7 separate regions of the Homo sapiens genome follow, and all the other regions are linked to region 7. The links are contacts of gene promoters, found by promoter capture Hi-C in blood cells and fetal thymus (Javierre and others, 2016). All regions are on one chromosome and are shown on one strand. Each heading gives the region's core, a stretch centred on a gene start or on the middle of the fragment in contact. The rest is flanking DNA. Distances are from core to core; before and after follow the strand shown.

Region 1 (2,804 bases), core at 40-2,539, 500 kb before region 7:
AGAAGTGCTAACAATGCAGGTCTCTGATAGGGCTTTTTGGAAACACAACACGTATTATGAAATTACACAGACAAGAATGAAACAAAGATGGTAAGTACTATATCCTAATACTTAGAAGATTAAATAAAGGAAATCTCACCAAATTCATGGGGAAAAAAGCCAGATACATAAAGAAAAATACACATAATGGGCTTGACTCAGAAAATAAAATATGAACAAAGAAGAACCAGAAAGAAGGTGGGGAGGAATGCATATCAGAATATTATAGAAAAATACTCTTTGTGGAAGAACAATCTGAGAAAACAGGTAACACAAATACTGACTAAACCAAGAATACCAATATAATGCAATTTAGGCTTTAACGAGGGTATCTGATTATCCTATTTGAATGTAGAATTGTAGCCACTTAATTATAAGTGGTAGGAATTCAATACAATTATTAAAAGAAATGAAGCAGAGGGTGAATATTATAGAATATTCTGGACAAAGGGAAGAGCATGAAGGAAGTTTTGGCAACATGATATCGCATGGCTCCCGCAAGGAATTATGTATTCAGTTTTCTCAGATCTAGAAATTTCCTTATGGTTTCTGTGTACATTTTGCATTAATAACCCCTAAAGGTACTTTAAAATACACAATTTTGGCCTTCCTGTGTGGCACAACAACAAGCCTTGCCTGAGCTGAGTCAGATCCACAGAAGCTTGAACAATAGTTGTAGCCCGAGCAGGCTGTGGGGCAGCTTTCTGTCATCTATGTGTGCCCAGGAGTGTGTTGTCTTCACACCATCACACAGGTAACAGAAACCATCTCTATCGCATCAAAACTTTAGCCAATTGTGATACTATCTGTACACACACATCACAAGAGATGGAAATAGGCTCTATAAAGAGCCAGAGAAATTGACCATCTTCACTGCTGGCTGTAGCTTCACTGCCCCCACAAATATTACACAGAAATAAATAGTAGAGTGGAAAGCAGACATAGTCTTACCAAAAGGATTGAAACTCTAATGATGTCTGAAGTTCAATTATGACACAGTGCTGATAGCTTGGACACAGTTCCTTTAGAACCTTTATTCAAGTCATAGTCGTACCTTTTAGAAATAAGGCACAAACAACATCCAACCCACCCCATCCCTCTGGGCTAGAGTCCCAAAGAGAAATAAGGGATACACCTGACCTGCAGTAAGGAAAGCAGAACCCAGTCTCTGAGGTGGTGAGGCCCACCCAGGGCTCAAAGGTGCCATTGTTTTGCTCCTCTTTATAAAGGGAGTTGCCACGTTCCTCCCAGCACAGAGTTGGGAGTGACTCCAGAGCCTCCAGCGAGATGCTGCTGATTCTGCTGTCAGTGGCCCTGCTGGCCCTGAGCTCAGCTGAGAGTTCAAGTGAAGGTAAAACAGAAGGGGGAAAAGATGCGGTGACTGCTTGGGACTTAGGAGGTGACAGTGGTAATTATGGGGAAGAGAGGAGAATGAAAACACAGATGGGGCTGCAGAGTTTTCATGCCTAGGATCAGGAGACCTGTTGTGCCCTCATTCCACAATAAGGACTTCTAATTTATTTAATGTACAATGAAATCCAATAACGAATTTGTTCCAGGGGAATGAGAAGGTAAGATTTGAATTTATAGAGATAGAACTGTGCTGTGAAGGCTGCAGTGGAGAGTGCAAGGCAGATTCAGGGAAGTCCAGCTGTGAAGATCCTATACTGATCCCAGTAAGTACACAGGGATGATGGTGGCCTTGCTGTACAGACAGTCGGCATTGATGATAGAGATACATACACATCAGAGATACTGCAGAGACAGAACTGGATAGAACACTTGTCTCTGTCTAACTAAAGATGTAGAAATATCAGAGCCAATCATTACAATTTTTCTCTCCCCTACATGCAGTATTTCAATGTGCTGGGAGTGGAATGGGTTAGATTGTATTGAAATGATTACTTCTGGTTACCCCTATTGAGAAAACATGTGTATGTATGCAATATATTAACAGGAGATGGAGGGCATAAGAACACCAAAATATCACATTGAAGTACCTGGCATGCATAAACTAAATAAGCATTAAGTCTTGAGGGATGCTAGGGAGGAAAAAAAGGGGCTGTTCTATGTTGAACTCATTGCTGTTGCTCTGTGTGGTAACAACCCTGCCTCCTCTTACACCTTCCACCCCTTCCAGCACCTTCACAGATGGTGGCTGATGAGTTAACCTAGGGGATGCATGGGGTGTGGTGAGAAGACAATTTTCCCTGTAGAACACTTGTGAGTCTTGAAGATTTGAGATGTAACATTTCCCATCATCCTGTGCTTCTCTTCTAGATGTCAGCCAGGAAGAATCTCTCTTCCTAATATCAGGTAAATCCCAATTCATTCTCAATCTGTTTTGACTCCCTTTTTCTGCTTACAAATGGATCATTTCTCCAGTGTCTTCTTATCAACACTTTCCTTTCAGGAATTGATTAATGTTATTGCCCCTAATGATATAGGCAATCTTCATGCAAACTTGATTCTGGGGACCATGAGCAGGCCACCAAATGGAATGTCAGAGATGCTTGGCTTAGATGACAACAGGAGTGGGTTGACATCCCCCTGGCCAGGAGTGCCTCCTGGGAGATGACAGACAAATGGCCAGTGTCCTTATTCTGACTCCTCCTTAGACTGAGAGCCCCTCAACTTCTCCCTTTTCCCCCAGCGTTCCACTCCAGAGTTCTAGGGCTTCACTGAAAATGCAAAGAAATTAGTATCTGGGTCTCATTTTTGTGCATTTCCCCATTTAGCTCCATTACTGTAAAAATTTGTGGCAA
Region 2 (2,953 bases), core at 123-2,622, 350 kb before region 7:
AGGTAGAGAATTATCAGGTCATGACGTTTATTATGATGATTTTACTTGCCTTTCCCTCAGGCCACTCATTTATTATAATTTTGGGAAACAACAAGCTAAGACAGAGCTCCTTGAGACTACTGTGGCATCTTAAATTCTCTCTGAAAAAAGCAAAACCTTTAACTTCATAGACAAAATTTAACTTTCTGCATCTATGAAAGAAATAACTTAATAGAAGACCTCATAAGTTAATTTTATATTTAACAATTTCTTTTTTGGAGTCCTTTTAAGTGTTGTTAAATAATTCTGAAATTTTCCTTAAAATATTCACTAACCATATTTTCTCAAAGTTGCCGGACATAATGTCTGATTCAAGGAAATGTCTCTACTATAATAATGCCTGCTAATAACAATAGAGTATGTGAGACTTGGAGAAAAAGATAAACATTTATAATGGAATATAAATAAATGCACATATGATATACAAGGCAATATGAATAAATATATATAAAATCACAGAAAAAAGTGTAATGTAATTTTTTGAACAAAAAATTATAAATACAGTAGGGAAAAAATTATAAAATGTTAAGTATAATTAAGTAAGTTTGTTAAAGCATAATATATATCAGTGTAATGCTTGGATATGTTTGTGGATGTGTAGTGCTACTTTGACTACTGTAATAAAATAACCCAGATGTAATCACAGTAGCTGGGAATGTAATGAAGCAGTTAAGAGAATTTTGCTTGCAAATGATGTTACTAAAATATGAAATGAAGATCATGTATTATTTTAATAGAGGAAATGGATATGTCCATATGAAAGAAAAAAAACCCAGCACTGTTGTTTGAGGTAACTTTTACCATAATTTTAAAAATGGAATAAAGGGAAAAAATAGCTGGTAAATCATGGGAAGTATGTTGGTTTTATATTAGTCTTCATGAAGTAGTAGGTGAAAATATTCTTCCAGGTTAAGCCCTGATGCAGAGAATGGTGTAAGAATGATAAGGCCATAGGGAAGAATTGTTGTTTTCTCCAGACAAAATGAACTCTTCCATTCAGGAAATTAGAGTGAGGTCACATCTATCACATTTATCAGGTAGGGTTCTCTCATTTAGCTATTAATATCATCATCACCACCACCACCACTATCATCATCATATATTTCATTTAACTATTTGTTTTTTAAATGTTTACATGCACGATTTGGAGAATGTCTAGGTAATTTCCTAAAGATTATTATTGTGGGTAAGTTGCATTATTAAAGAGCAAGGCTTATGTGAAACTTAATACATTTAGAGTTAGAAGTTGAGTGTATTTTTACTTAAAATGCATTGCTTGAACAAATGATTTATAAATAATCTTAAACTCATCAGAGGCTAACTACCAGAAATATTTAGTTTTTAGTGTAAATAGCATTTGTATAATAAGAGAGATAAAGTCAATAAACCATTTTATAATTAAACTCTTATTTCAAAAGAGAGGCTTTAAAAGTCAATGAACCAAACAGAAATAAGCCCTCACATCTTCAATATCATACTCTCTTGATGATGGACTTGTAAGGCACAAAGCCCCATGTCTAACAGTGTAAGGAGAGTAAAAGGACTACTTAAATATTAAGCCATGTTATAAGATGGTGTTGCTGTGATTGATGTATTATCTTTTATTTATGGTAATGGCATTTTGAGATCAAGTTCTGCTCCTTGAATTTTCATGTAATAAGAGTCTGTGGTGAAGATGCAGCAACAGAGAAGCTGCTACTTGCATCAAATTTATTTTTAGTTCTTTTCAACTTGGTTAAGAATGATTAGACTCACACTTTTATTCTATTCTTGACCAAAGTGTGGGTAATCCCAGCACTTTGGGAGGCTGCGGCAGGCAGATCACGAGGTCAGGAGATCGAGACCATCCTGGCTAACATGGTGAAACCCCATCTCTACTAAAAATACAAAAAAATTAGCCGGGCATGGTGGCGGGTGCCTATAGACCCAGCTACTCGGGAGGCTGAGGCAGGAGACTGGTGTGAACCCAGGAGGCAGAGCTTGCAGTGAGCCAAGATCGCGCCACTGCACTCCAGCCTGGGTGACAGAGCAAGCCTGCGTCTAAAAAAAAAAAAAAAAAAAATTGGTGTTTTCTTTGACCAAAGTGTGGGTAAAAGAAGAGAATTATTGGTATTTTCTTGTCAAGTTTACTAAAAGTTTTTAAAAAATCTTTAAGAATTTGGTATTATGAGTATTTTATTTATCCATAGAAATAACTTACAGAAATAGAGTGAAAGTTTCTTTCTACCACCAAAATAATGACTGAAAAAATTAATATTAAGAATTCAATATTTAACAATCAATTAGATTTAACAATCAGTTAGAAATGGTAGAATAAAGAATTAGTGAATTGGAAGATAACTACACAGAGTGAAGCATAATTAGACAAAGAGATGGAAAAATACAGGCTAAAGGGGAAGAGCATTGAGGCTACAGTCAGAAAGGCTTAACATACTTTTGGAGTTCTGGAAGATTAGAAGAGAGAATGTAGGGAAGAAGTAATGTTGCTGAGACCTTTCCAAAAATAATAAAATGTATCAATCCATACATTCGAGAAACCAACAAACCTCAGACAAGATAACTGAAAACAAATTAACATATAAATGCTACAGGAAACCAAAGACCAATAGAAAATTTGAAAAGTAGCCTGAGAAAAAAGATAGATTATGTTGAAAGGATCAACTGTTTGAATGACAACTGATTTTCAGCAGAAAGCATGGAAGCTAGAATTCAATGTAATATATTTTCAGTGCGTTTCAAAGGAGTAGCAGACATTTCATAAACAGAAATTCAAAAGGATACATTTTCAGATAGAAAAAAGTTACTGAAAATACAAAGTTGAAGATGCAAGAAGGAATGAAAATAAAGGCAATGGCAAATGTGCGTAACTAAAAGGACTATTGACTGTATAGAACAATAATATCTTGTGTTAAAA
Region 3 (2,861 bases), core at 162-2,661, 430 kb before region 7:
CATGAGATCTGATTGTTAAACAGAGCCTGGCACCTCCTCCTCTCTCTTTTGCCATGTGACACGCCTGTTCGCCCTTAGCCTTCTGCCATGAATAAAAGCTTCCAGAGGCCTCCCCAGAAGCTGAGCAGACGCTAGTACCATGCTTGTACAGCCTGCAGAACTGTGAATCAAATAAACATCTTTACCCAGTCTCAGGTATTCCTTTGTAGAAATGGAAAATGGCCTAATACACTGGCTTCATACTCTTTGATAGCATTCCAATATCCTTAGGTTGAAGAGAAATTCCTTAACATAGCTTTAAAGAGCTTCTGTAAATGGTTCCTTCGCTTATCTCTTTCTTTTAAAATTTATTCAAGTTGCTTTACAACACAGATTGCTGTTACCTGTGTTCCTAATTTTAGCAGAAGAATCTGTGCAGACCATTTTTTACTAGCTGCATTAAATATAACATGACCATGAGTTCATAATCATACGGTTATTTTTCAGAAGGTTGATGAGTAAACTCAACCTATTTTTTGAACCCTGGAAACAATTTTAAGTGAACACTGCATTCTATTTTAATATTCTAGCACATGTAGTTTCCTATAACAAACCCCTATAGTTTCAAGCCTACCAGTGAAGAGGCTTTAGGACTACTAAAATAACCCTCTGGATAGACAGGAATATCCTTTGTCCCTTCCATTATACAGACATGCGCAGAACTCAAGTTTATGATAAGATACAGAAAGGTTTTTGATTTCTCTTAAATTTCCACTAAATATTTCTGTTTTCCAGCTTAATTCAGTTTATACTTTTTTCCTGATTGTCTCAGAAATGTCTTTACACTTTTGTAGAATGAATGCAAATTATTTAAATTAGGATCCACACAAGGTTGACATGTTGCATTTGATCAGTTTTGAATTTTCTACACAGCAATTGAAGCTTAACTTTTGGATTCTTTCATTTGCAAAGGCCCTTTCCATGACCCTGCAAGGGCCTTAGCAAATTTCTGTTCCTAATTTTGTATTATTTTTCTTAAACAGAACAATTGAAATTACATCAACTTTAGTCTCCCCCAAACCTGGAACCTTCCCTACACTTAGTTGTTATGTTTTATATTCGGCAAAGGACATTCACCCTCCTTTCTTCCCATGCAATGAACTTACTGATTAAGTGGATGACATGTCCTCAGAACTATCACACATTCTAGATTTGCTTGGTGTTTATTTGTGTGTGTGTCAGTTAACTTCACACTCCATCCCCTGTATTTCCTGGAAACTGGAAGTTGGTTGTAAAGGCTTTAGAATTCAAAACTCTGGTTTAATACTTGAATCTATCTCTCACCACTCCGTCATCTCACTCCATGTTCCACCCACATTAAAAAAATCTTTCTATTCTTCAAGGGCTCTGTGCTTTGTCTCAACTTCAATACTTTGTATATTCCGTTCATCCAATATGAAAATCTTTCCATTAATTTTATTGTTTAAAATCTGTCCTTCCAGTCTGTGTCCACTCTTCTGCCTGCCCTGCAATACCTCCTAGATCTCACTGTTCTGTGGTTCCTCAGCCCCCTGTCCACCTCTACCTTACCTGTTGCCATTATTTGTTTGATTATTCAGTGGATATGAAATCCAAAGACCATGAGTCCAAGTGTGTGGAAAAATATCACTTTCTTTTCTTTATCTGATCTTAGTCAATTTTTCTTGCTGTATTATGTTAAAGTCTAGTCAACTCAAGGTAAACCCAGTAATTTCAGAGCCCTCCCACTCCTACGTCCATCCTGCCTTCTTCCTGAGGTAGCATACAATTCTATCAAGCATTAGTGGGGCTGGGGTGGGCCTGGTTGTTAGTCATCTGCTGCTGCACCTTTATCCATGCAGGTCTCCACTGGTTGCTCTGACACTGGCACTGGCCGAAGCTTTTGAGCTTCTACTTGGCTCTAGTTCTTAGTCCCCTCTGACATCCACTACTGTGTCCCTCTGTCCAAAGGACTACCCGTCTCTCTGGCTCAGCCATCAGACCATATTCATACCTATTCTGGTAACCTGAGAAAGTATTTTGCCCTTGACTGTACCATGCCAGGGTAGACAGTGACCATTTGTCTAAGCATCTTTATGCAGTTAGTTCTTTCTTTTATTCTTTTGAAAGCTTTATTGAGGTATCATTGGTGTATAAAAGTTGGACACATTTAATATGTATATATATATCTTGATGAGTTTGGCCCTAGGGATCCACCTGTGATAACATCACCACAACCAAAGTACTGAGCATATCCTGTCATTTCTAATCTATTGTGTAGATTATCCTGCTGGACAGAAAGTTTTCTTTAACCAGGCTTGCTGCCTCCTCAGGCTTCACCAGGCCAGACACAATTGTCTTTTACTTTCCTTTTTCCAAATTTATTTGAGGTTCTGTTACTCCCTCCTGTGTGCTTCAAATCTGCTGTAGGTTTTAGGGGTGGGAGACAGGTTGTAGAGGGCCCTTCTCAGAGACCTATAAAGCATCTATCTCTGTTGAATTCCTCTTAGATCTTTTTTTTTCTACCCCTGAATCCAGGATACTTTTATCTGTGCCAGGGAACCCGTGCTTTCTAAGTATTCTTTAAAACTTACAGTTAAGCTCAGATCTTGGACAAGAGTTAACTTTTGTCTCCCTCTGTTTTTTTTTTTTTTTCATCTTGGAACACCCTGGACAGAAGAAAAATTAGGATTGTGGTCAATAAGAGCAGTCCACATTATAGCTAAAAATGTGGAGCTAATTGTCACATCTGAACTATAAAGTGAAACACAAGTAGGAGTCTACATAATGAGCTCAAATACCAGGATTGTCAGAATTGGGTGAGGATGTGAAATAAGAAGCTCAAGATAAAGAGAACACACTAC
Region 4 (2,812 bases), core at 234-2,733, 400 kb before region 7:
GTACAGGATATTTTCACCACCCTAAAAAATCCCTAGTGCTTCACCTATTCAACCCTCCTCTCTCCCTCCCTCCAGGAAACCACTAACCTTCTATTTTTAATCTTCTTTATAGAGTTTTGCAAACATTTTGCAAATATTTACAAGTTGATTATTAATTTATAAGGAGAACCAAAGACCTAGAATAGTCAATATAATACTGAGCAAGAATAAAAGTCGAAAGATTGGAATGACCAAAATCCAGAACACTGACAACACAAAACGCTGGTGAGGATGTGGAGCAACAAGAACTCTCCTTCATTGTTGGTGGAAATGCAACATGGTACAGCCACTTTGGAAGACAGTTTGGTGATTTTTTTATAAAACTAAACTTACTGTTACCATATGATCTAGCAATCATGGTGGAACATCATATAATTAGAATCATAGCATATGTACCCTTTCTATACTGGCTTCTTTTCACTTACAACATGCATTTAAGATTCATCCATGTTCCTTCATAGATCAATAGCTTCTTTCTTTTTCTCAGTGAATAATATTCTACTGTATGTGTACACAACAGTTTTTTAAAATTCATTTGCCTGTTGAAGGACATCTTGATTGCTTCTGGTTTTCGATGATTATAAATAAAGCTGCTATAAACTTGTGCATGTAGGTTTTTGCAGAAACATAAGTTTTTAAATCACTTGAGTGGATAGCTAGGAGTGCACGTGATGAATTACATAGTAAAACTAGGTTAAGCTTTGTAAGAAACTACCAAACTGTCTTCCAAAGTGATCCTATCATTTTGCATTCCCACCAGCAATACATGACAGTTCCTGTTTATCTGCATCCTTGCCAGTAATTAGTATTGTCAGATTTTTTTTCATTTTAGTCATTCTAATAGGCATATAGTGATATCTTATTGTTGTTTTAATTTTCAGTCCGTAATAACATACAACGTGGAACACTTTTTCATGTTTATTTGCCATCTGTATATCTTCTCTGGTTGAGGTGTCTCCTTAGATCTTTTTGCCTATTTAAAAATATTTTTGTAATAAAGACTTTATTTTTTAAAGCAGTTTTAGGTCCCTAGCAAAATTGAGATGAAAGTACAGAGATTTTCCATAGATTCCCTGTCTTCACACATGCATAGCCTCCTTCATTGTCCATATCTCCTAACAGAGTGGTATATTTGTTACATTTGATGAACCTACATTAAAACATCATTATCCCCCAGAATCCACAGTTTACATTAGGATATGCTCTTCATGTTGTACATTCTATGGATTTGAACAAACTTATAATGACATATAGCCACCATTATAGTATCGTGCAGAGTATTTTCATTGCCTTAAAAATCCTTTTGGCTTTAACTGTTCATTCTTCCTTTTCCCTAACCCCTGGCAACCACTGATCTTTTTATAGTCTTTATTGTTATAACCTTTCCAGAATGTCATAGAGTTGGAATCATACAGCCTTTTCAGATTGGCCTGTTTTACTTAGCAATAGGCATTTAGATTTACTCCATGTTTTTTCATGGCTTGATAGTGCATTTCTTCTTAGCACTGAATAGTATTCCATTGTATGAATGTACTGCAGTTTATTCATCCATTCACCTACTAAAGAACATCTTGGCTGCTTCCAAGTTTTGACAAGGATATATAAACAAACATTCATGTGCAGATTTTTGTGTGGGCATAAGTTTTTAATTCCTTTGCATAAATACCAAGGAGTGTGATTGCTAGATCATATGGTAACGGTACGTTTAGTTTTGTAAATGAAATCACCAAACTGTCTTCCAAAGTGGCTGTACCATTTTGCATTTCCACCAGCAATGAAGGAAAGTTCTTGTTGCTCCACATCCTCACCAGTGTTTGGTGTTGTCAGTGTTCTGGATTTTGATCATTCCAACCTTTCAACTTTTTTCTTCTTCAGTATTATGGTGGCTATTCTAGGTCTTTGCTTCTTCTTATAGTCTTGGCTTGTGGTCTTCCCTGAGAAATATTACAGGAGGTAAAAATCATTTCATCCATCTGAAATGGTACTCTTGTTGTGGGTTTTAATGGGACTGAAGTGCTAGTTCTCTAACATTATATACCTTTTCCAAGAGCTTTGAAATGCAAAGCTAAGTTTCAGTGAGTCAAGGTAATGCCAGCCACAGTGGTCTCACATCAGTAACAGAGGACCTCACACCAGGACCTTAGAAACCTTCCTTGTAAAGATCATAAAGTTCTCACACTAAAGCTTCAGTGGCCTTGTAGTAAGGCCATGAAGGTCTCTCACTAGAGCCACAGAGATTTCTTACCAAGTTCTAAATGTCCCCTTAGCTTTTTGGCTCATATGTGCTTCTTCACTTAGAAACCCAAGTTTTGCATTACTTCCAAGCAGGTTCTTCTAATTTCAACGAATGGAAACTGTAGAGTTTGCCTAAGAATTTGCTGTCATTTTAATAGAGTAAAAAAAAAACACAGGATTATTTCATGTTACTCTTTATGTTTTACTTATGAGCCCAAATAGTGATTAGCAGTCTGTCTGTACTAGTCTTCTGGCTTTTGATGATGGGAAAGTAAGGAGTCCAATAGGATGTTTTGTTTTATCTGATAGGTTCTTAATCTTTAAATGCAAGGTATCAATTTGTAACCACTTCTGCTCCAATGATCTCACAGAAGATAGAAATAATTATTACTTAATTCCTGGTCTTGGACCTGGGTGTTAATGACTGTTAATATAACTAATATTTGTACATAGTTTAAAAGTTTACAATCATTTTTACATAATCTATGTTTCTTAATATGTAATTTTGTGACCTAAGAATTTTATGCTCCATTTTAAG
Region 5 (3,065 bases), core at 257-2,756, 370 kb before region 7:
TTTTTTTAATCTGCTGAACATAATCTCTAATTCTCTGCCAATGATCTTAGTTACAGTATTTCATTATTTGGTGGTGTGATTTTTTTCTCCCTCTTTTTGGCTGATGAAAAGTTGTACCCAACTTCCCTCACTAATAATATGAATGATCTCCATTTCTCTTTATTGTTCATTGATGCATGCCACTATTTTACAGTGGCTAAGTCCATATGCTTGGTGTTGAAAGCCATGGAGATGGTGAAGATTTTGTAATGTTCATTGCAGATCCCTAATCAGGATAGAAACTGGCAGGGATGTCCTGCAATTAAGCTACTAAGACTTCCATAGTTTCTTCATTTGTAGTAGGCTTTTGGGAAGGTCCTTGGGCCTTTTAGTTGTCCCAAGAGCACTGCTGAAATTTGTATTTGTGGAGAGTAGGGGTAAGGGGAGGTTTACTTATATTTTGAAAAGATCTCATGACTTGACCTGGTGGTAATCCTGCTGAGCAAATCCTATTAAGTCTAGTTTGTTCAGGCTGCTATAAAAAATACCATAAAATGGGTGCTTATGAACAACAGAAATTTATTTCTTATAGTTCTAGAAGCTGGGAAGTCCAAGATCCAGGCATTCACAAATTTGGTATCTGGTGAGGGTTCATTTCCTTGTTCATAGATGACTTTTCCCTATAACCTTACATGGCAAAAGGGGTAAGGGAATTATTTTGGGGTCTCCTTTATAAAGGCACTAATCCCATTCACGAGGGTTTCATCTTTATGACCTGATCACCTCCCAAAGGTCCCATCTCCTGAGATCATCACTTTGGGGGTTAAATGCCAACATGTGAATTTTTGGGGGGCACATTCAGACCATAGTACAAGTGTTAAAACTGCAAGAAGAATCCCCACACTCAAGGTAACCCAAGTAATAGACTAATATGAATCAATCCAACCCAATTGTTGGGAATTCTCATAGTTCTTGCAGAGGTTCTTTTCTTGGTTCATTTTCTTGGAACTTCCCAAGTCGTCTTTAGACTACTTTCCATGCTCAAACTTCCAAGTATTAGGATATTCCTTTCCCTCATCTTTTGTCCCTATATTCCTCAACTTTCATCCTACCCCTTTATGCTTCTGCATGTAACTTTATTTTCTTCTTGACGCTATCAAAAGCTATTGATGTCCTGCCAGAAAGATCTCCCATTAAAAGCAAACTGCAAGATTTTCTAACAAAATTTAGTTAGGGATCCTCAGGACAGGAACAGACATGGCTTCAAAATTTAACATTGTCTGATCTCTACTCTGGGTAGCACAGGAAAGTGTTTCCCTTCCATTCTGAGGACAACGTTCTTTCCTCTCTCTCCCTTTGCTCCCATATCCCTCAATCCCACCAACCCTCTAATAAAATAAGCCAATAGGTTTAAGGCTGCAGAGAGTATAAAATACTTGAACTTACATATCAAATCATGTTAAATATTTATATTTTAGTATGAAAGACCCTCAATAGTTATGTTAAAAAAAATAACTATTACCCAGGTAATATTTCTGTCCAGAAATTTGAGAAACAGAATTATTTGTAATTATCTACACATTTAAGAAAATTGAACTCCTTATGAAATATAACTTTAGGAATTACTGGAGATTCATTTGAGGTCTGGTTGGTTATCATGACCTTAGGAATTTACTTAACCTCTCTAAATCCCGGTTTGCTTCTCTGAAAAATGATAAAAATGTTTTCCTCACAGGGTATATGTGAGAATTACGGAGCTCATGTATATAAATAGTTTTTCATAGTTCCTGGTATTAAAAACTCAATATATTTTAAAAATGATGCTGATGGTAATGATATGCTATTTGTCAAGTAATCACATGTATTTTTACCCAGAATTAAAAAAAAAAAAACAACTTTTCCCCTATCCCTTAGGTTACATATGTTGCTATGTTCACTGTTTTCCTTTTATAGTTAAAATAAGCTGTAACGCATCGTTTCCCATTTTTTTTTTTGCCAGCTACATTTCTTATCTCTATTGATAATAACTATACCACCTATGTCTCTGCTTTTTCATGCTTGAGGGATCTCTGGATCAATCAACGTGCATGATGGCCTGAAAAAGCCCAATTTATGGGCAATAAAGTGAATCATCTTATTATCAGGAACGAATATATGTTTCCTTTATTGACTGCTGACTATGTAGAGCATACCAACAAAATTGCCATTCATCTATCCATTCAACAATATTTATTAGCTATTCCGCACTGGGCAGTGCTCTAGGCTTGGGGATAGAACAGTGAACAAACAAAATCCTTAGCCTAATGGATATTACCTGGAAGTGTGCCAGGAAGAATAAACTCACTTGTGAATTACAACAATAAGTGGTTTATTCAGGTCAAAATCTTGTTTTGTCTCCTGGGAATTTCACTGAATTGCATCATGTAGGAGGCAAACTATACCCCAAGAATTAAGAGCAATTGTGAATAAATGATAAACCACAGAGTTTACATTTACCTCCTAATACATTTAACTCCTAATATATATATATACATATATTACGAGGTAAATGTAAGCTGTAACTTTATGCATATATTGTAAGTAGTAACTATACATATATACTTATATACTGTATACATATATAGTAAGTAGTAACTATACATATATACATATATAGTTACTACTTAAATTTATATATGTGTATGTATATATATATGTATATATACAGTACACACACATACTGTTACTACCGGGTGTAAAATTGAATAGGATATAGTGTCTTCCCTCACAGAGCTGCCAATTATGTTGGAGGATGTAATAAATACAAAGTCTGTTTCTTCATCTTCGGTTTAACAAATGACTGATGTGAGGAAAAAAGTTATAGGAATATGTTCACATAGTCACCCAAATGGAGCATCCTACTCTGTCACCATTTCAGGATTAAGACTAGACAGTCTTTTGTGTTACAAATTGGGACATCAGTGCTCTGGGAAACAGTGATGTCCACGATTCTAAATCCCTTGGTATTACTATTTCATTGATTAAACTACACTTCTGATATTTTAGACTAAAATGTTTTGGCTTATCGCAGTCTAGGAAACCTGTCT
Region 6 (2,793 bases), core at 27-2,526, 380 kb before region 7:
TAATTTAGCTCCCACTTATAAGTGAGAACAGGCAGTATTTGGTTTTCAGTTTCTGTATTAGTTTGCTAAAGATAATGGCCTCCAGCTCCATCCGTATCCCTGAAAAGGACATGATCTTATTCTTTTTTATGGCTGCATAGTATTTCATGGTGTATATGTACCACATTTTCCTTACCAGTCTATCATTGATGGGCATTTGGGTTGATTCCATGTCTTTGCTATTATGAACAGTACTGCAATGAACATTTGCATGTATGTGTCTTTATAACAGAATGATTTATATTCCTCTGGGTATATACCCAGTAATGGGATTGCTGGGTCGAATGGTAGTTCTGGCTTTAGATCTTTGAGGAACTGCCACATTTTCTTCCACAATGGCTGAACTACTTTACATTCCCACCAATAGGGTATAAGCACTTCTTTTTCTCCACAACCTCACTGGCATTTGTTATTTTTCGACTTTTTAATAATAGTCATTCTGACTGGTGTGCAATGATATCTCATTGTGGTTTTGATTAATTTTTCTTGAATGATCAGGGATATTGAGCTTCTTTTCATATGCTCATTGGTTGTCATGCATTTTCTTAAGTTAATATATGCACAAATGCAAGTCAATCATTTTATCCAGAGCCAGGCATATAGTAAGAGTTCTAGAAATGATACCTTTTATTATTGTTGTTGTTACTATTGTTTTTTATAATTAGTAAAATACATGGCTGCTATGGTTTGAATATGTCCCCCAAAGTTCATGTGTTAGAAGCTTGATCCCCAGTGTGGAGGTTTTTGGAGGTGGAAACTTTAAGAAGTGTTTAGGTCATGAAGGCACAACCCTCATAAATGGCTTAACACAATTATTGAGTAGTGGGTTTGTTATTACAGGAGCTGATTCCTTATACAAGGACAAGTTAAGCCCCATTCTCGTTCTCTCTCTCTCTTTTTGCCCTTCTCCCATAAGATGACACAGTAAGAAATCCCTTACCACATGCTGGCACCTTTATATTGGACTTCCCAGACTCCAGAATTGAGGAATAAATTTCTTTCTTTATAATTTTCCCAGTTTGTGGTATTTTGTTAGAGCAGCACAAAGCAGGCTAAGACAGGAAATTGGTATGGGAGGAGCAGGCTAGAAAAAGCCTAGATTGCCACAAATTTTGTATTAAGAGTGATTCCACTGAGGTCTCAGGCGAGGATAACTGTAGGGAAAGTCTGCAACTTCTTAGAGATTACTTTTATGGTCCTGATGAGAATGTTGGTAGACATATAGAGAGTAAACGCCATTCTGATGAGGTCTCAGGTGGAAAAGAGAAATGTCTTATTGGAAACTGGAGTAAGGATCATCCTTGTTATGAAGTGGCAAAAAAACTTGGCAGAATTCTGTTCATGCCCTTTGGCTTTATGGAAGGCAGAATTTAAGAGAGGTGAACTACGATATCTGATGGAAGAGACATCTCAGCAGCAAAACATTCAGTGGGCTCCATGGCTTCTTTCAAGCACATATAGTAAAATGTTGAGGAGAGAGAAATGATTTAAAGATGGAATTTATAATGAAAAGTGAAGACTAATAGAAAAATTTGGAGAACTCTCAGCCTGGCCATATAAAGAATAAAAAAGCATGTTCGAGAGAGAATAAGAAGGGTTTGGCCAAGTGGTCATTTGCTGAAAATATTAATCTGGCTAGAAGGAAGCCAAGTTCTATTCATAAGACAAAGGGAGAATGACCTGGAAGATATTTCCGAGATCATGGAGTTAGGACCAGAAGTTACGCAAGTTAGGACCTTAAGGTCAAAGCTTCCAGAGAGGTGCCTGAAAGACCTCAGCATTCACTGCCCTGTGCTGCCTCACAAAACCAGTCTGGGAGATCTATAGGCACAAAACTCCAACCTGTGAGAGCTGCTCAGGAGTGAACTGAGACAAGCAAAGCTGTGGAGGTGAGGCTGCCTGGGAAATTGGGGGCCCAATCCCTGACCCAGTGGGTCTAGAAGGTGGGACATGGAGTCAAAGATTATTCTCAACCCTTAGGATTTAATATGGTTTGCCCTGCTGGGTTTTGGACTTACTTAAGGCCAATTGCCCCTCTTTTCTTGCCTATTTTTCCCAGGAATGGAAATGTCTTTCATATGTCTGTCCCACCACTGAATTTCGGAAGTGGGTAACTTGTTTTGATTCCACAGGCTCATGGCTGGAGAATTTGCCTCAGGATGAATTGTGCCTTGAGTCTTATCCATATCTGACTTGGATGAGACTCTGGAGTTTGGATTTTTAAGTTGGTGCTAGAATGAGTTACAATGTGGGGGCTACTGGAAGGGAGGAAATGAATTTTGCATGTGTGAAGGACATACCTTTGGGGGCCCAGGGGTGAAATGCTATGATTTGAATGTGTCCCACAAAGTTCACTTGTTGGAGACCTGGAGGTATTGGGAGGTGGGACCTTTAAAAGGTGTTAGGTCGTGAGGGCATTACCCTCATGGATGGATCCATGCTGTTATCACAGGAGTGGGTTTATCACATGAGTTGGTTTCTTTTAAAAGTGTGAGTTTACTCTGTCTCTGTCTCCCTCTCTTTGACGTTCTGCCATGGGATGATGCAGCAAGAAGGCCTCTGCCAGAGGCTAACACATTGATATTGAACTTCCCATCCTCTCAAACTGTGAGAAATCAGTTTCTTTTCTTATAAATTACCCAGTTTGTGATAGTCTGTTACAGCAGTACAAACAAACTAAGATAATCCCTGAAGTTGTATATGATTTCTCCCTTAGATATTATTTGGTTTCTTCTCAACTAATTTCTTGGTTCA
Region 7 (2,705 bases), core at 103-2,602:
AAGGGAGAAAAACAATCTTTAATGAGATTCTATCTAAGATGATATATGATGTGGGAAAAGGAGTATAATCTCAAGAATGAAAGTTTGACAGAGAGAGGAGGCACAGTTATGTATAGCAGAACCACCTTGAGAAAGAAGGTTGAGGGTCCCAGTAGTCAGCGTGTTCATGAGTACTCTAGCTGGTGATGGCAATTTTAGAAGTCATTTCCCAAAGATTCCCTGGAATGTTCTCTCTAGCCTTCTAACTCAGAAATCTCTGACATATTTTTTTCCCTCTGCATCATTTTCTTTTCTATTTTGTTTCCAGCAGTAGTTTATAGATAACTAGGTTTCTTTAAGTTATTAAGTTTATGCTTTCCTGTTACACATTACACACATGTAAGAAATAGAAAAAATCCTGCATGTGTTGTATACATTGTAGAACTATTTAAATACAAGAAGCCCTAGGGTATTGTGATTTGTATTACCTACATTCAAATGTATTTTGGGCTAAGTTGTACTTTCCCTTACCCCAAAACAAATAAATCTAATTTAATAGTAGAATTAGTCCTATTCCTTGGAAATACTGGTATGTAAAAAAAAAAAATTATTATTATTATTTTGAGACAGAGTCTCACTGTATCGCCCAGGTTGGAGTGCAGTGGCACGATCTTGGCTCACTGCAACCTCTGCCTCCCGGTTCAAATGATCCCCCTGCCTCAGTCTCCCAAGTAGTTACTTTTTTATGTGTTTGCCCTATCTAGAAATATGACTATAATATGCACTGTGAGATTACAAATCTTATAAAAGGAGTTGATTGGAACTAGAATAATGTAAAATTTAAATTTTCTTAATTTTAGATTACAATGCTTATTATACAAGAGACAGTGATTCAGGAAATGAATTGTCTTCAAGGGTATTTGTCACATTAAAAAAAAACTAAAGATAACAAATCTTTACCTGGCATATTTCACTTCTGAGGAACAATTGAAAAGAAAGCAAATTCTTAGTAAATATTATCATGTGCCTGCCTAAAAAAAAGTCATTTCTAATTAGATTTGTATTATATCCTTCCCTAATTAGCCGTTTAAATGAAGACAAGAATTATTATCCTCTGACTAAATGTTAAATATCTACAATCTAATTGTACTAATTACTTCCAAAGTGAAAATTTCTTTGCATCTGGGAGAACTGATTTGTGGCTTATTTATAACTTACATGATGAAAATGAAGTTTTATTTACACAGTTGGGTTTTTATTAAACATTTATCTCTTTTTTTATGACTCCCTATTCAAAACTCAATTTGAAGATCCAAATATAGAGCTACAGCAAGAAGCCTGTTGCAAATTCATGATATAAAATCTCTTTGAATTTGCATGGGAGCAATTTCAGCCAAACATTTCAGGTATCACTCACTAAAGGATAATAATTATAATTTTTCCAGGCTATAAATAACTAGTCAAGCTGCTCATTAGTTGGTTTCATCTTCAGGAGTGTAGAGACAATCCTATTTCAGAGGAGAGCTGAACACTTCCGGAAGAATAACAACGTCGAAATAACAGCAGATGAAAACATTATTGCATGATTCGAAGAATTGATCTATCATGCTTTAACAGGTCACCTGTAAATTAGCTCATCTACAGTGATATTTGAAATCAGATTGTTCTCTCTACAAACATGTTCAGTCCTGCAGATAACATCTTTATAATCCTAATAACTGGAGAATTCATACTAGGAATATTGGGGAATGGATACATTGCACTAGTCAACTGGATTGACTGGATTAAGAAGAAAAAGATTTCCACAGTTGACTACATCCTTACCAATTTAGTTATCGCCAGAATTTGTTTGATCAGTGTAATGGTTGTAAATGGCATTGTAATAGTACTGAACCCAGATGTTTATACAAAAAATAAACAACAGATAGTCATTTTTACCTTCTGGACATTTGCCAACTACTTAAATATGTGGATTACCACCTGCCTTAATGTCTTCTATTTTCTGAAGATAGCCAGTTCCTCTCATCCACTTTTTCTCTGGCTGAAGTGGAAAATTGATATGGTGGTGCACTGGATCCTGCTGGGATGCTTTGCCATTTCCTTGTTGGTCAGCCTTATAGCAGCAATAGTACTGAGTTGTGATTATAGGTTTCATGCAATTGCCAAACATAAAAGAAACATTACTGAAATGTTCCATGTGAGTAAAATACCATACTTTGAACCCTTGACTCTCTTTAACCTGTTTGCAATTGTCCCATTTATTGTGTCACTGATATCATTTTTCCTTTTAGTAAGATCTTTATGGAGACATACCAAGCAAATAAAACTCTATGCTACCGGCAGTAGAGACCCCAGCACAGAAGTTCATGTGAGAGCCATTAAAACTATGACTTCATTTATCTTCTTTTTTTTCCTATACTATATTTCTTCTATTTTGATGACCTTTAGCTATCTTATGACAAAATACAAGTTAGCTGTGGAGTTTGGAGAGATTGCAGCAATTCTCTACCCCTTGGGTCACTCACTTATTTTAATTGTTTTAAATAATAAACTGAGGCAGACATTTGTCAGAATGCTGACATGTAGAAAAATTGCCTGCATGATATGAAATCTTAGCTGTATAAATGGAATTTAAAACCAAATCTTCTCTAACAAAAAATATAGTTTTCTTAATAGTCTATTCTCATTTTTCCCCAGTTATCTCATTTATTTTGGATGCATATCTT

What was found. Contacts are between HindIII fragments. The CHiCAGO score rates a contact against its expected background, and 5 or more counts as called.
Region 1: the fragment with the promoter of PRB4 here is called in contact with the fragment with the promoter of TAS2R8 in region 7 in 17 of 17 cell types (non-activated CD4 T cells, M1 macrophages, total CD8 T cells and 14 more); the score reaches 18.0 in non-activated CD4 T cells.
Region 2: a fragment that was not itself captured here is called in contact with the fragment with the promoter of TAS2R8 in region 7 in 1 of 17 cell types (M2 macrophages); the score reaches 5.7 in M2 macrophages.
Region 3: a contact is called between a fragment that was not itself captured here and the fragment with the promoter of TAS2R8 in region 7, in 4 of 17 cell types (M1 macrophages, M0 macrophages, erythroblasts and 1 more). The highest score is 8.0, in M1 macrophages.
Region 4: a contact is called between a fragment that was not itself captured here and the fragment with the promoter of TAS2R8 in region 7, in 8 of 17 cell types (erythroblasts, M0 macrophages, endothelial precursors and 5 more). The highest score is 10.2, in erythroblasts.
Region 5: a fragment that was not itself captured here is called in contact with the fragment with the promoter of TAS2R8 in region 7 in 1 of 17 cell types (M1 macrophages); the score reaches 5.8 in M1 macrophages.
Region 6: a fragment that was not itself captured here is called in contact with the fragment with the promoter of TAS2R8 in region 7 in 8 of 17 cell types (endothelial precursors, M0 macrophages, M2 macrophages and 5 more); the score reaches 8.8 in endothelial precursors.

What each region holds. Positions count from the first base shown.
Region 1 is chr12:11,308,921-11,311,724 of GRCh38, reverse strand. PRB4 (proline rich protein BstNI subfamily 4) reads left to right here and starts at 1,289. Exons shown (of 4, transcript NM_002723.6): 1 at 1,289-1,390; 2 at 2,320-2,355. The coding sequence starts at 1,327. The HindIII fragment of the contact is 5,809 bases long and covers 703-2,804 here.
Region 2 is chr12:11,155,993-11,158,945 of GRCh38, reverse strand. The region is part of intron 1 of PRH1-TAS2R14 (PRH1-TAS2R14 readthrough); the gene reads left to right. The region is part of intron 1 of PRH1-PRR4 (PRH1-PRR4 readthrough); the gene reads left to right. It also overlaps a transcript of PRH1 not described here and the pseudogene TAS2R18P. Among named protein-coding and RNA genes, the nearest start is that of SMIM10L1, 14 kb to the left of the region's middle. The HindIII fragment of the contact is 4,679 bases long and covers 1-2,953 here.
Region 3 is chr12:11,230,891-11,233,751 of GRCh38, reverse strand. The region is part of intron 1 of LOC107987435 (a long non-coding RNA gene); the gene reads right to left. Among named protein-coding and RNA genes, the nearest start is that of PRB3, 37 kb to the left of the region's middle. The HindIII fragment of the contact is 976 bases long and covers 924-1,899 here.
Region 4 is chr12:11,209,600-11,212,411 of GRCh38, reverse strand. All of the region lies in intron 1 of LOC107987435 (a long non-coding RNA gene), which reads right to left. Among named protein-coding and RNA genes, the nearest start is that of TAS2R42, 24 kb to the right of the region's middle. The HindIII fragment of the contact is 1,485 bases long and covers 741-2,225 here.
Region 5 is chr12:11,173,490-11,176,554 of GRCh38, reverse strand. It overlaps SMIM10L1 (small integral membrane protein 10 like 1), which reads right to left. Exons shown (of 1, transcript NM_001271592.2): 1 at 539-3,065. Among named protein-coding and RNA genes, the nearest start is that of PRH1-PRR4, 3.4 kb to the right of the region's middle. The HindIII fragment of the contact is 3,407 bases long and covers 1-3,065 here.
Region 6 is chr12:11,190,324-11,193,116 of GRCh38, reverse strand. The region is part of intron 1 of LOC107987435 (a long non-coding RNA gene); the gene reads right to left. Among named protein-coding and RNA genes, the nearest start is that of TAS2R42, 4.8 kb to the right of the region's middle. The HindIII fragment of the contact is 1,028 bases long and covers 763-1,790 here.
Region 7 is chr12:10,805,933-10,808,637 of GRCh38, reverse strand. TAS2R8 (taste 2 receptor member 8) reads left to right here and starts at 1,352. Exons shown (of 1, transcript NM_023918.3): 1 at 1,352-2,587. The coding sequence starts at 1,658. The coding sequence ends at 2,587. The HindIII fragment of the contact is 4,624 bases long and covers 1-2,705 here.